Regions from separate parts of the Homo sapiens genome. Here region 1 is linked to region 2. Evidence: promoter capture Hi-C in human tissues and cell types (Jung and others, 2019). All regions are on one chromosome and are shown on one strand. Each heading gives the region's core, a stretch centred on a gene start or on the middle of the fragment in contact. The rest is flanking DNA. Distances are from core to core; before and after follow the strand shown. Region 1 has its middle 28 kb from the start of NORAD. Region 2 holds the start of AAR2 (AAR2 splicing factor).

The links. Contacts are between HindIII fragments. The study calls those that stand out against the background at their distance.
Region 1: a fragment that was not itself captured here is called in contact with the fragment with the promoter of AAR2 in region 2 in 1 of the 25 tissues and cell types used here (mesenchymal stem cells).

What each region holds. Positions count from the first base shown.
Region 1 is chr20:36,075,589-36,081,648 of GRCh38, forward strand. It overlaps the pseudogene HMGB3P2. Among named protein-coding and RNA genes, the nearest start is that of NORAD, 28 kb to the left of the region's middle. The HindIII fragment of the contact is 7,705 bases long and covers 188-6,060 here.
Region 2 is chr20:36,232,208-36,238,463 of GRCh38, forward strand. AAR2 (AAR2 splicing factor) reads left to right here and starts at 4,271. Exons shown (of 4, transcript NM_001271874.2): 1 at 4,271-4,296. It overlaps LOC105372602 (a long non-coding RNA gene), which reads right to left and starts at 4,259. Exons shown (of 3, transcript XR_936695.2): 1 at 4,151-4,259. It overlaps EPB41L1 (erythrocyte membrane protein band 4.1 like 1), which reads left to right. Exons shown (of 22, transcript NM_012156.2): 22 at 1-592. The HindIII fragment of the contact is 11,137 bases long and covers 343-6,256 here.

The sequences.
Region 1 (6,060 bases), core at 2,790-5,289, 160 kb before region 2:
GCAACACAGTATAGATGAATCCTAAGTAAATCCAGCAATCTTGGAATATCTGAAGGAATTTGCTCCCAATTATTCTTAGATAAGCTAAGAAATGAATACAACTGTTAGTTATCGTGTTTGTGTTTTTGTTTTTACTCTGCTTAATTTTTTAACATTTTTATTTATTTCTATAATTATAGAAATGGGGGGGGGGGGTCTCACTATGCTGCCCAGGCAGGTCTCTAACTCCTGGGATCAAATGATCCTCTTGCCTTGACCTCCCAAAGTGCTGGGATTACAGGTGTGAGCCACTGTGCCCAGCTTCTGCTTAATTTTTATTTCCCAGTTGGCAGGGGCTCCCTAATTCTTTAGCTTTACTTTTTTATGGATAAAATATACATAGCATAAAATTTATCATTTTAACTATTTTTTGACAGATAAACAGTTTCTTTATTCCTCCTCATCCTCCTCCTCTTCTTCATCTTCCTCTTCCACCTTTTCCTGGGCAACTTTAGCAGGACCATTTGCACCATCAAACTTTCCTTTTGCCTTATAGTCAGAAACATCCTTCTCATACTTCTTCAGCTTTGCCGCCTTAGTGAAGTAAGGCTGCTTTTCACTGTCATTTAAGCTATTCCACATTTCACCCAACTTTTTTTTTTCTTTTGCCACGTCTCCAATAGAGATGCCAGGGTTTGTGGATTTGATCTCGGGGCAGAATTCTGAACAGAACAGGAAGAATCCAGACAGTAGCCTTTTGGGGCATTAGGATCCTTCTTGTTGCCTCCTTTAGCTGGTCCATAATCCTTCATTTCCCGATCATAGTGTACTTTATCCGCCTTTGCCATTTCATTGAATTTAGACTTCTCTTTCCCAGACATGGTCTTCTACCTCTCGGAGCACTTCCTGGAATATTCTGCAAAATTGACAAGGACCTCTGGGTTTTTCTTCTTATGTTCTTCTCTGCACATCTGCACAAAGAAGGCATAAGCAGACATCTTTCCCTTTGGTTTCTTGGTGTCACCTTTAGCCATCCTGACTGAATTTCTTCTTCCTTCCCGGCCGCCTAGCAGGAGGGAAGGCGGAGGGGAGTGAAGGGCGTGGGGAGGAGAGGGAGGGCCCTGGGAGGCGAAGCAGCAGGAGGCGGCGACGTGGCCCGAAAGTTCTGCAGGCGCTGCGGTGGCGGCCCCATTTTAACTTTTTTTTTATTTTTTATTTTTTGAGAGGGAGTCTCGCTCTGTTACCCAGGCTGGAGTGCAGTAGCGCGATCTCGGCTCACTGCAAGCTCTGCCTCCTGGGTTCACGCCATTCTTCTGCCTCAGCCTCCCGAGTAGCTGGGACTACAGGCACCCGCCACCACGCCCGGCTAATTTTTTGTATTTTTCGTAGAGACGGGGTTTCACTGTGCTAGCCAAGATGGTCTCAATCTCCTGACCTCGTGATCCGCCTGCCTCGGCCTCCCAAAGTGCTGGGATTACAGGTGTGAGCTACCACACCCGGCAAACTTAAAAAAAATTTTTTTTTTGAGACAGAGCCTCCCTCTGTCGCCAGGCTGGAGTGCAGTGGTGCGATCTCGGCTCACCACAACCTCCGCCTCCCGGTTTCAAGCGATTCTCCTGCCTCAGCCTCCCGAGTAGCTGGGATTACAGGCACGGGCCACCACGCCCAGCTAATTTTTGTATTTTTAGTACAGACGGGGTTTCGCCATGTTGGACAGGCTGGTCTCGAACTCCCGATCTCAGGTAATCTGCCAGCCTTGGCCTCCCAAAGTGCTGGGATTACAGACGTAAGCCACCACACCTCACCCATTTTAACTATTTTTAAGTATACAATTCAGTGACATTAAGTTCATTCACAAAGTAGTGTAATCATCACCACTTCCTATTTCCAGAACTTTTTCATCATCCCAAACAGACACTCTGTACCCATTAAACAACATTCCCCATTTTCCCCTTCCCTCAGCCTCTGGTAACCTCTATTTATTTTAATTTCTGTCTCTACGAATTTACCTATTCTAGATACTTCATATGAGTGGAATCATACAACGTTTGTATTTATTTTTGTTTGTTTGTTTGAGACAGAGTACAGTGTTGGGATCATAGCTCACTGCAGCCTCAACCTCCCAGGCACAAGTGATCCTCCCACCTCAGCCTCCTGGGTAGCTAGGACTACAGGCACACACCACCACACCTGGCTAATATTTAAAAATTTTTTGTAGAGACGGTGAAACAGGAACCCTCGAAGGGTGTGCAATGGGGGTGTGGCTTGCTTCTTCAGTGCCCTGCTGCTCAAACCTCTAGGGGAGCATACAGATGGGCAGGCTGTGGGGCTCCGACCCCACAGCAGTGTCTAGGGGTGAATGTTTACAGCTGAAGCCCCAATGGGCGTGTGTTATAGGGTGCTCTTTTAGGTTGCCATCTATAGGCGGCTTGTGTTAACCAGCTCAATTAAACCCCCTTCCTTACCACAAGGACAGAGGGATTTCTGTATCCTGGGGTTTCTTGCCTTGTTGTACCTGGAAGAACTGGATCACATGTGGGCTTGGAGAATGAGTGCAAGGTTTTATTGAGTAGAACTAGCTCTCAGCAGATGGGGGAGTTGGGGAGCCAGAAGGGAAATGGTTTTCCCCTGGAAATGTTCTCATCATGTTCACCAACATGGTGAAACCCTGTCTCTACTAAAAATATTTTTAAAATTAGCTGGGCATGGTGGTGTGCGCCTGTAATCCCAGCTACTCAGGAGGCTGAGGCAGGAGAATCACTTGAACCGGGGAGGCAGAGGTTGCAGTGAGCAGAAATCGAGCCACTGCACTCCAGCCTGAGTGACAAAGCAAGACTCCGTTTCAAAAAAAAATGTTAGTAAGGATGTGAAGAAAGTGAACCTTCATATATTGCTGGGGGACTGTCAAATAGTATCGCTGCTTTGAAGTTCTTCAAAAAGTAAAACAGAGTTACCACATGACCCAGCAATTCCACTGCTAGGCGTATATCCAAGAGAAATGAAAATGTATGTTCATAGGCGGGGCACAGTGGCTCACGCCTGTAATCCCAGCACTTTGGGAAGCCAAGGTGGGCAGATCACTAGAGGTCAGGAGTTCGAGACCAGCCTGGCCAACAAGATGAAACCCCGTCTGTACTAAAAATACAAAAATTAGCTGGGCGTGGTGTCAGGCACCTGTAAGCCCAGCTACTCGGGAGGCTGAGGCAGGAGAATCATTTGAACCAGGGAGATGGAGGTTGCAGTGAGCAGAGATCACGCCACTGCACTTTAGCCTGGGCGACAGAGTGAGACACTGTCTCAAAACAAACAAACAAAAACACAAAAAACAAAACAAAACAAAAATGGAGGCTGGGCATGGTAGCTCATGCCTGTAATCCTAGCACTTTGAGAGGCCGAAGTGGTCGGATCACCTGAGGTCAGGAGTTTGAGACCAGCCTGACCAACATGGAGAAACCCCATCTCTACTAAAAATATAAAATTAGCTGGGCATGGTGGCACATGCATGTAATCCCAGCTACTCGGGAGGCTGAGGCAGGAGAATCACTTAAACCTGGGAGGCAGAGGTTGCGGTGAGCTGAGATCTCGCCATTGCACTCCAGCCTGGGCAACAAGAGCAAAACTCCGTCTCAAAAAAAAAAAAAAAAAAAAAAAAAAAAGGGAGGTGGGGGGCACTGGCTGTGGTGGCTCACGCCTGTATTCCCAGCATTTTGAGAGACCGAGGTGGGTGGATCACCTGAGGTCAGGAGTTTGAGACCAGCCTGGCCAACATGGTGAAACCCCATCTCTACTAAAAATACAAAAAAATTAGCCAGGAGTGTTGGTGCATGCCTCCCAGCTACTCGGGAGGCTGAGGCAGAAGAATCACTTGAACTCGGGAGGCAGAGCTTGCAGTGAGCTGAGATGTGAGCCGAGATTGCACCACTGCACTCCAGCCTGGGTGACTGAATGAGACTTCGTCTCAAAAAAAAAAGAAAGAAAATGTACGTTCACACAAAAACTTGTACACAATGTTTATCGTGTTATTATTTCTTATAGCCAGCAGGTAGAAACAACCCAGATGTCCATCCACTGACGAATAGCTAAACAAAATGTGGTATATCCATACAGTGGACTATTATTCAGCCATAAAAAGGAATAACACTGATTCACACTACAACATGGATGAACCTTGAAAATCTTACGCTAAATGAGGGAAACCAATCACAAAATAACATATATTGTATGATCCATTTATATGAATAAATCAAGACAGAAAGTAGATTAGTGGTTGCCAAGGGATAGTAGGAAGTTGGGAATGGGGAATAACGGTTAATAGTGTGACTGCCCAGTGTGCTCACCTTGCCCACTGCCAAGACAGAGCCGATTTATCAAGACAGAGAAATTGCAATAGAGAAAGAGTAATTCATGCAGAGCCGGCTGTGCGGGATACCAGAGTTTTATAATTACTCAAATCAGTCTCCCCAAGCATTCGGGGAGCAGAATTTTTAAGGACGACTTGGTGGGTTGGGGGAAGCCAGTGAGCCAGGAGTGCTGAATGGTCAGGGATGAAATCACAGGGAGTCGAAGCTGTCTTCTTGAGCTGAGTCACTTCCTGGATGGGGGTCACGAGATCAGATGAGCCAGTTTATCAATCTGGGTGGTGCCAGCTGATCCATCAAGTGCAGGTCTGCAAAATATCTCAAGCATTGATCTTAGGAGCAGTTTAGAGAGGGTCAGAATCTTGTAGCCTCCAGCTGCATGACTCCTAAACCTTAATTTCTAATCTTATGGCTAATATTAGTCCTACGAAGGCAATCTAGTCTCCAGGCAAGAAAGAGGTCTGCTTTTGGAAAGGGCTGTTATCGTCTTTGTTTTAAACTATAAACTACGTCCAGGCACGGTGGCTCATGCCTGTAATCCCAGCACTTTGGGAGGCTGAGGCAGGTGGATCACTTGAGGTCAGGAGTTTGAGACCAGCCTGGCCAACATGGTGAAATGCTGCCTCTACCAAAAATACAAAAATTAACCGGGTGTGGTGGTGGGCACCTGTAATCCCAGCTATTCAGGAGGCTGAGGCAGAAGAATCGCTTGAACCCAGGAGGTGGAGGTTGCAGTGAGCCGAGGTCATGCCATTGAACCCCAGCCTGGGTGACAGAGTGAGACTCCGTATCAAAACAAAAACAAAAAAAACCTATAAAAACTATAAACTAAGTTTCTCCCAAAGTTAGTTCAGTCTATGCCTAGGAATGAACAAGGACAGCTTGGAGGTTAGAAGCATGTAGAGTCGATTAAGTTAGATCTCTTTCACTGTCTCAGTCATAATTTTGCAAAGGCAGTTTCAATAGGCATGGGATTTCTTTTTGGGGGTGATGAAATGTTCTGGAATTAGAGAGTGGTGATGGTTTCACAACTTTGTGGATATACTAAAAACCAACTAAATTGCACACTTTAAAATGATTAATTTTATATGTTAATTATATCTCAAGAAAAAGTACAGTATATGATAGTAGGCACCCATGTACATACTACCTAATTCCAGAAAAAAACTGTTACAAATACCATTGCAATTTCCTATGTACTGTTCTTCCATCCCATTCCCCTCCCTCTCTACCCAGAAGTGGCCACTACCGTGAAGTTGGTGTTTATCATGGCAATTGTCTTCATTTATTTGGGCTGCTATCACGAAATACTTTAGACTGAGTATCTTATACGCAACAGAAACTTATTTTTCACAGTTCTGGAGGTTGGGAAGGCCAAGATCAATGGGGTGAGGGCCTACTTTCTCACAGACTTCACGTTTTTACGGTGACCTCACATGGTGGAAGGGACCAGCTAGCTCTCTTAGGTCTCTTTTATAAGGGCAGTAATCCCATTCATGAGGGTACCCAATCATCTCCTAAAGGCCTCATCTTCTAACACTGTCACATTTGGGATTACGTTTCAATGTATGACTCTTGGGGACACACAAACATTCAGAGCATAGCAGTAATACATGTCTTTATAACTTTTAACAAATGTATGAGTATCCCTAAACAATATATAGCATTGCTTTGTATGTTTTTAAGCTTAATATACATCACATAAGTTGCATCCTCTGCAATA
Region 2 (6,256 bases), core at 3,021-5,520:
GTCTTCAACCTACTTTTCCTTTTCTCTTTTTTGTTTCTCATCCTCTCTGTGCCACCTCTCCACCCAGGAGGCCATGTAGCATAGTGGAAAAAGTCCCTGAGGGCGGTTAGGAGTTCTGGGTGACCATCCTGGCTCAGCTCCTAACTCACCATGTGACATCAGGCTATCCCCATTCCCCCTCTTGGGCCTCAGTTTCCCGACTTGCAAAATAAGCAGAAAGAACCAGATGCTCTCCAGGGTCTTTTTCTACTTTGCTATCTCATGGGTCTTCATTTTCTCTTATTTTGTTTTCTCTGGATCTTTTCCATCTGAGGGTACAGGAAGTACCAGGACCTGTTTCAGTTTTTGAATCCTGCAAGCACATTCCAAGACTGGCCTGAAACTGCATGAGCAACATCACTCGAAATAATTTTTTTTTTCAAAAGCACCTTAACAACCAATTGCGATGCTGTCCTGTTCCTTTTTACTCACACCCTTCTCTCCTTTCTCGTCCCCATGCTCCCCCACCTCAGTGCTCCGTGCTGTATGCGTGTGCTCTCTGTTCTTGTATACTCAATATAAGTGAAATAAATGTGTTTGATGCTGAACCATACTTCCTTGGCACCTCTCCTCTCTCTCTCTCTCTCTCTCTCTCTCTCTCTCTCTCTCACTGTCTCTCTCTGACTTTGGCCACTGGTACAAGTTGGCACTGTGGGAGGGGCTAAAACTGAAGTGGAGACATCCCAACTTAGAACATGTTTATGCAACAAATATTTGGAACTCAAGGTGGTCCAGGCCTTGGGTGACTCTCCAGGCACAACACAAACAAGACAAAAGTCCCTGCCCTTCATGAACCCACAGGCTAGTGGAGGAAACAGATGCCAACACAGGCAAACAGTCCGTTACAGAGCACTCAGCACTAGGAAGGAAATACACCGGGAGAAGGGAAGGAGGGTCACTGAAGGAGACCACTTTAAATACAGTGGCCAGGTAAGGCCTCCCTGAGGAGGCGATCTGTGAGCTGAATGAAAAGAAGGATCAATCAACAAAGGCGAGGAACTTTGGTGCACATTCTAGGAGAGGGAACAGTAAGCATACAGGCCCCAGGACGTGGAGGGGCTTATTGAGCGGAGAAACAGCATGGTCCCTCCTCCTGAAAGAAGAGTACCTACATTGGAGTCTCTCTTCCTGTAACCCCCCTACATGGGAGCCTAGTGGGAAAAAATACAGCAATCCTCAACTTCGGCCTTTGCCCAGAACCTCTATATATGTTCCCATATCCTCATACCACCTGTCCCATTATTCACTTATTTTTCTTTAAATTGACTCAGGTCAAGTGCAGTGGCTCACGCCTGTAATCCCAGCACTTTGAGAGGCTGAGGCAGGCAGATTACCTGAGGTCAGGAGTTCAAGACCAGCCTGGCCCACATAGTGAAATCCCATCTCTACTAAAAATACAAAAAATTAGCCGGGTGTGGTGGTGCACACCTGTAATCCCAGCTACTCGGGAGGCTGAGGCGGGAGAATCGCTTGAACCCAGGAGGCGGAGGTTGCAGTGAGCCGAGATCGTGCTACTGCACTCCAGCCTGGGTGACAGAGAGAGACTCCGTCTCAAAAAAATAATAAAATAAAATAACTAACTAAATAAATTGACTCACGTTAAAAGCAAATGCATTTAAAAAGGAAACTATATTACTTCCACAAATGAAAAGCTTATGTTATTTGCCAAGAAAGGAGGTCTTCATAAAATAAATGCAAAAATATTAAAATTAACAACCACAATGCACTTAAAACCTAAACTCATCCCTTGGACCACCTGAGGTGCACACACCACACTTTCCTTTTATTCCACCAAGCAACTCACCTCAGCCCACCTTTATTGCTGCAAATCTCACCAGCGAGTCTTTTCCATGTGTATGTATTTTTCCAGAGTTGGTCATCTTGTACATACTTTTGTAAATACTTTAAAATATATATATGTACATATATGTATATATATGTACATATATATCTATATACACGTATATATATCCTGAGCATTTCCGTATACTTTCAAATACTAAATACTTATTTTCTTTGGAAAGGTAATTCATTAAATGATACAAAGACTATGCAGTGAAAAGTGATTCTTCAGCCTTCTCCAGATTTCTGTCTCTTGTCAGAGGCAATTGCTGCGAGGAACATTATGAATCCTTCTCTGAATTTTCCCTATAGGTCTCCTTTAGCAATCTGTTATCCCTAGGGTTCTGGAATAGGACTTGGTTTACAAACAATGGGTCTTCATATGATTCCTCAGGACCCCATACACCCTGATCCATATTTCTGTCTCCCATAAAGGACCATCCTGACTCGGCTTTTGTCGAATAATCAAAGGTAAGTTCACCCAGATTAGTGTTTTTCAACTGCATTGAGAGTGGGGAAATGACCCCTCCTCCTTTACCCCCAACCCCCGCCCCGGGGACATTTAGCAATGGTTGTCACAACTGAGGGGTGCTACTAGCTCTAGTGGGTAGACGCCAGGGTTGCTGCTAAACATCCTACAATGCACAGGACAGCCACATACAACAAATACTTATCTGGCCCCAAATGTCAATAGTGCCAAGGTTGAGAAATTCTGATCTAAATGGACATGTGACCCACAAGGTGGGACTCCTAGGCCACCATTTACAGCTTCTACAACCAGTGTTCAGTGTCCTGGAGTCTCTGAAAAGACGGTGAGCCCAACTGAAACAGGGAGCTTTGAGACCAGACCATAGAGCTCAGCACTTAAGACTGGGAGTGGGGAGGGGTGGAGAGGGAGCTGAGCTTCTTCATGCAGGAGATGAAACTTGACAGGACAGGCTGAGATTGGTAAGCATGACTGTGACTGATGGAGGCTGTCTCTGGTTAATCCTGCAGCAGCTCATTGTGATTAACCATGACTGCAGGGCCCGGTCTAGTCTGCAACCCACTAAGAGATAAATTTTGACCGAGACAGATTGGCGTGTCCAGCTGTCACTGAGGAAATGTGACAGACAAGCTAAGGAGCAGCAGCACAAGAGATAAGAACAGACAGCCCTTGGTTTGCATTCTAGCTCTGCCATTCTCTGGCTGTGTAACATCTCTTTGAACCTCAGTTTTCTCTTCTGCAAATTGGGAATACACATACCTTACAAGGGTTAGTGCAAGGATTATAAATACCCAAGTGGGCCGGGCACGGTGGCTCATGCCTGTAATCCCAGCACTTTGAGAGGCCAAGGTGGGCAGATCACCTGAGGTCAGGAGTTCGAAACCAGCCTGGCCAACAAGATGAAACCCCGTCTCTACTAAAAATACAAAAATTAGCCAGGCACGGTGGTGGGCGCCTGTAATCCCAGCTACTTGGGAGGCTGAGGCAGGAGAATGGCTTGAACCCAGGAGGTGGAGGTTGCAGTGAGCCGAGATAGCGCCATTGCACTCCAGCCTGGGTGACAGAGTGAGATTGCGTCTCAAAAAAAGAAATACCCAAGTGGCCTGCCCTAAAATCACATAAGCCAATTCTTGGCAATAAATCACTTAATATAGATCTCCTACTGGCTCTGTATCTTTGGTGGAACCCTGATTAATAGTGCAGGGTTAGACCCACAAATAGTTATTTATTAATACCAAATTATCATCATTATTAATTAAATGCATAATATATGTACTCAGCTGAGCTTTTGTGCCTGGCTTTGTGCTCGGTTCCAGGGAAACAGTGAGGAACAAGACAGGCAGATTCCTTCCCTAGTGCGTTGATAGCCTGACTGAGATGTTAGGACTTGGCCTGCAGGAAGGACACGGGGTGATAATGGCCAGAGGGACTGAGGTGGCGACCGCTGCTGCTGCAGCAGCGGAGGCTGACGCTGGTTCTCTCTGGGCTGGTGGCTGGGTTTCTGAGGCTCTCCCCGAGGGCTGAGTGTGACTGGAAGCTGAGACACTGTGACCGGGATAGAGACTGGCTGACAAAGACAGTGACCGAGCGCCTGACTGGCTACTTCTGAATAGTAGCCACTGGTACAAGCCTTGGCTGTGCTTTAGTGACCATGACTGCTTGAGCCCAAAGTAAGATGGCTGGTGGCTGTGTTTCTGGACGGGGATATAAAATGCATAGGTTAATGAAAGTTGTTCACAATTCAGAAGCTAAAACGAGAAACTAAGAATAACAAAAGGCAACCTTGCATCCGGCGGAACCTGCAGGCACGGGCCATTCTTCCCGCGACCCAGGGCTCTGCCGGACCGCTTCCCCCGTCGCTCCAGTCAGACGCCAAAGCTGGAGAACTTCCGGTGCGTTTCCGCTGTACCGGAACGTGGGGCGAGGCGGTGAGTGTGGCCTCCTGGCCTCTTTTTCCTTTCCTGATTCCTTGTGTATGTGTGGCTGGGCCGCCCCTCTTCTCGGCTCAGAGTCACGGAGTGCCTTGAACTAGGCCCACCTCGCCGGGGCGGCTGGTTCTCTGTTTGTGGGACGCTGGTGTCTCTGGAGGCCCTTCCTGAGAAGCCGTCGCCAGAGTTACGTCGCGGTTTTCTTAACTTTAGAGCCTGGGGGCCGGAGACCCTGATTGCACTCGACCTGGCTCTGCCCTACTCTCTGCGTGACTTCCAGTAAGGTCTTTCCCCGAACTGAGGCTTTGTTTCTCGTTTACAAAATGGATATCATACTTGTATTAAATAAATGTTTACTAAGCGTTGAATCTGTGCTAGGGATACAGCAGGACTCAAGTCTCGTGGCGATGACAGCCTTCAATCAAACATCCAAAACTGCAGTTGTGATCATTGAGACGGAAAGGTACAAGGCACCCCAGATTATATCACAGGAGACCTGACCTAGCCCCAGGGCAAGGAACCTTTACTGAGGAGGTGAATATTGAGCTGAGATCAGAAAAAAGGATTTGACAAAGTGGGGAGGGAAGAGTTTTCTATATGGAGACAGCCTCCAATTTCAGGTTCTGAAAGAGGCCGTTGTGGCTGGAACAGAGAGCTTGTGGGGGACCATTGTGTGACACAAGCTAAAGGGGTTGCCAGGAGTCAGACCGTGCAGGCTTTGTAGGTAATAGGAAGAATTCTGGTTTTTCAAGAACCATATGGGAAACCACTCAGAAGCTGACATGGGTGGTGTTGTGATTAGATTGGCATTTTGAAAAGGTTACTGCTGTTGAATGGAGAATGGGTTGAGGAGCAAGCACTCTGAGTGAGGGACGATGGTAGCTTGGATTAGGGAGGTGGTGGAGAGAAGTGGATGGATGTGACTTTAGGTGTTCCAGGACTGTGAGGAACTCACAGAGCTGTCAGTGACAGGGGCTGGTAGACTGCAGAGTTCTATGCATATTTAATAAACGTTTTCCTAGCATCTCCTCTGTGCTAGGCCCTGTGCCAGCTGCTGGAGATATAGTGAATAGAATTACAGACTGGTGGAATTAGCATGAAAGAAACGTCATTATCAAGGAGGAGCACACAGATGTCACAAGGGAAAATGGCTAATTGATGAGCTGTTATTGTAAATGGAATATCTGTTCATTCAGCAAATATTAAATACTTTCTGAATTCAGGATTACAAATAGGAAGATGATACGTATTATTATTATTATTATTATTATTATTATTATTATTATTATTATTATTTTGAGACGGAATTCGCTCAGACCCCCAGGCTGGAGTGCAGTGGTGTGATCTCAGCTCACTGCAACCTCTGCCTCCCAGGTTCAAGCAATTCTTCTGCCTCAGCTTCTCAAGTAGCTGGGACTACTGGCGCACACCACCATGCGCGGCTAATTTTTTTTGTATTTTTAGTAGAGATGGGGTTTCACAGTATTGGCCAGGCTGGTCTCAAACTCCTGACCTCATTATCCATCCGCCTCGGCCTCCCAAAGTGCTGTGATTACAGGCGTGAGCCACCACGCCCGGCCTGTTGATACGAATTATTTAGAGCAGAGTCTTTCAAACTTTTATGACTGTGACCTACAGTAACGAATACATTTTATGGCACAACCAAGTATACACACAAACACACAAAGCTCCAGAAAACAGTACTTAGCTTTACTACTCATGATGTATTGTGATATTTCAAAAATTCTGTTATTTTCGTTTAAAAAATAATGCTGGTTGAGACCTTCACATTGATTTCCTAATCCACTAATGGATTGTGACTTGCAGTTTGGTGAAACACAAAGTGCTGATTCAGGGTAAGAGTCATTTGTGGTGGTTTTGAGGTAACAATGATAAAATGTGCTCTTATTTTTGGAAAAGGATTGGTCTTCCTTTCTGCACTGCTTTATTTAAAGTAAAA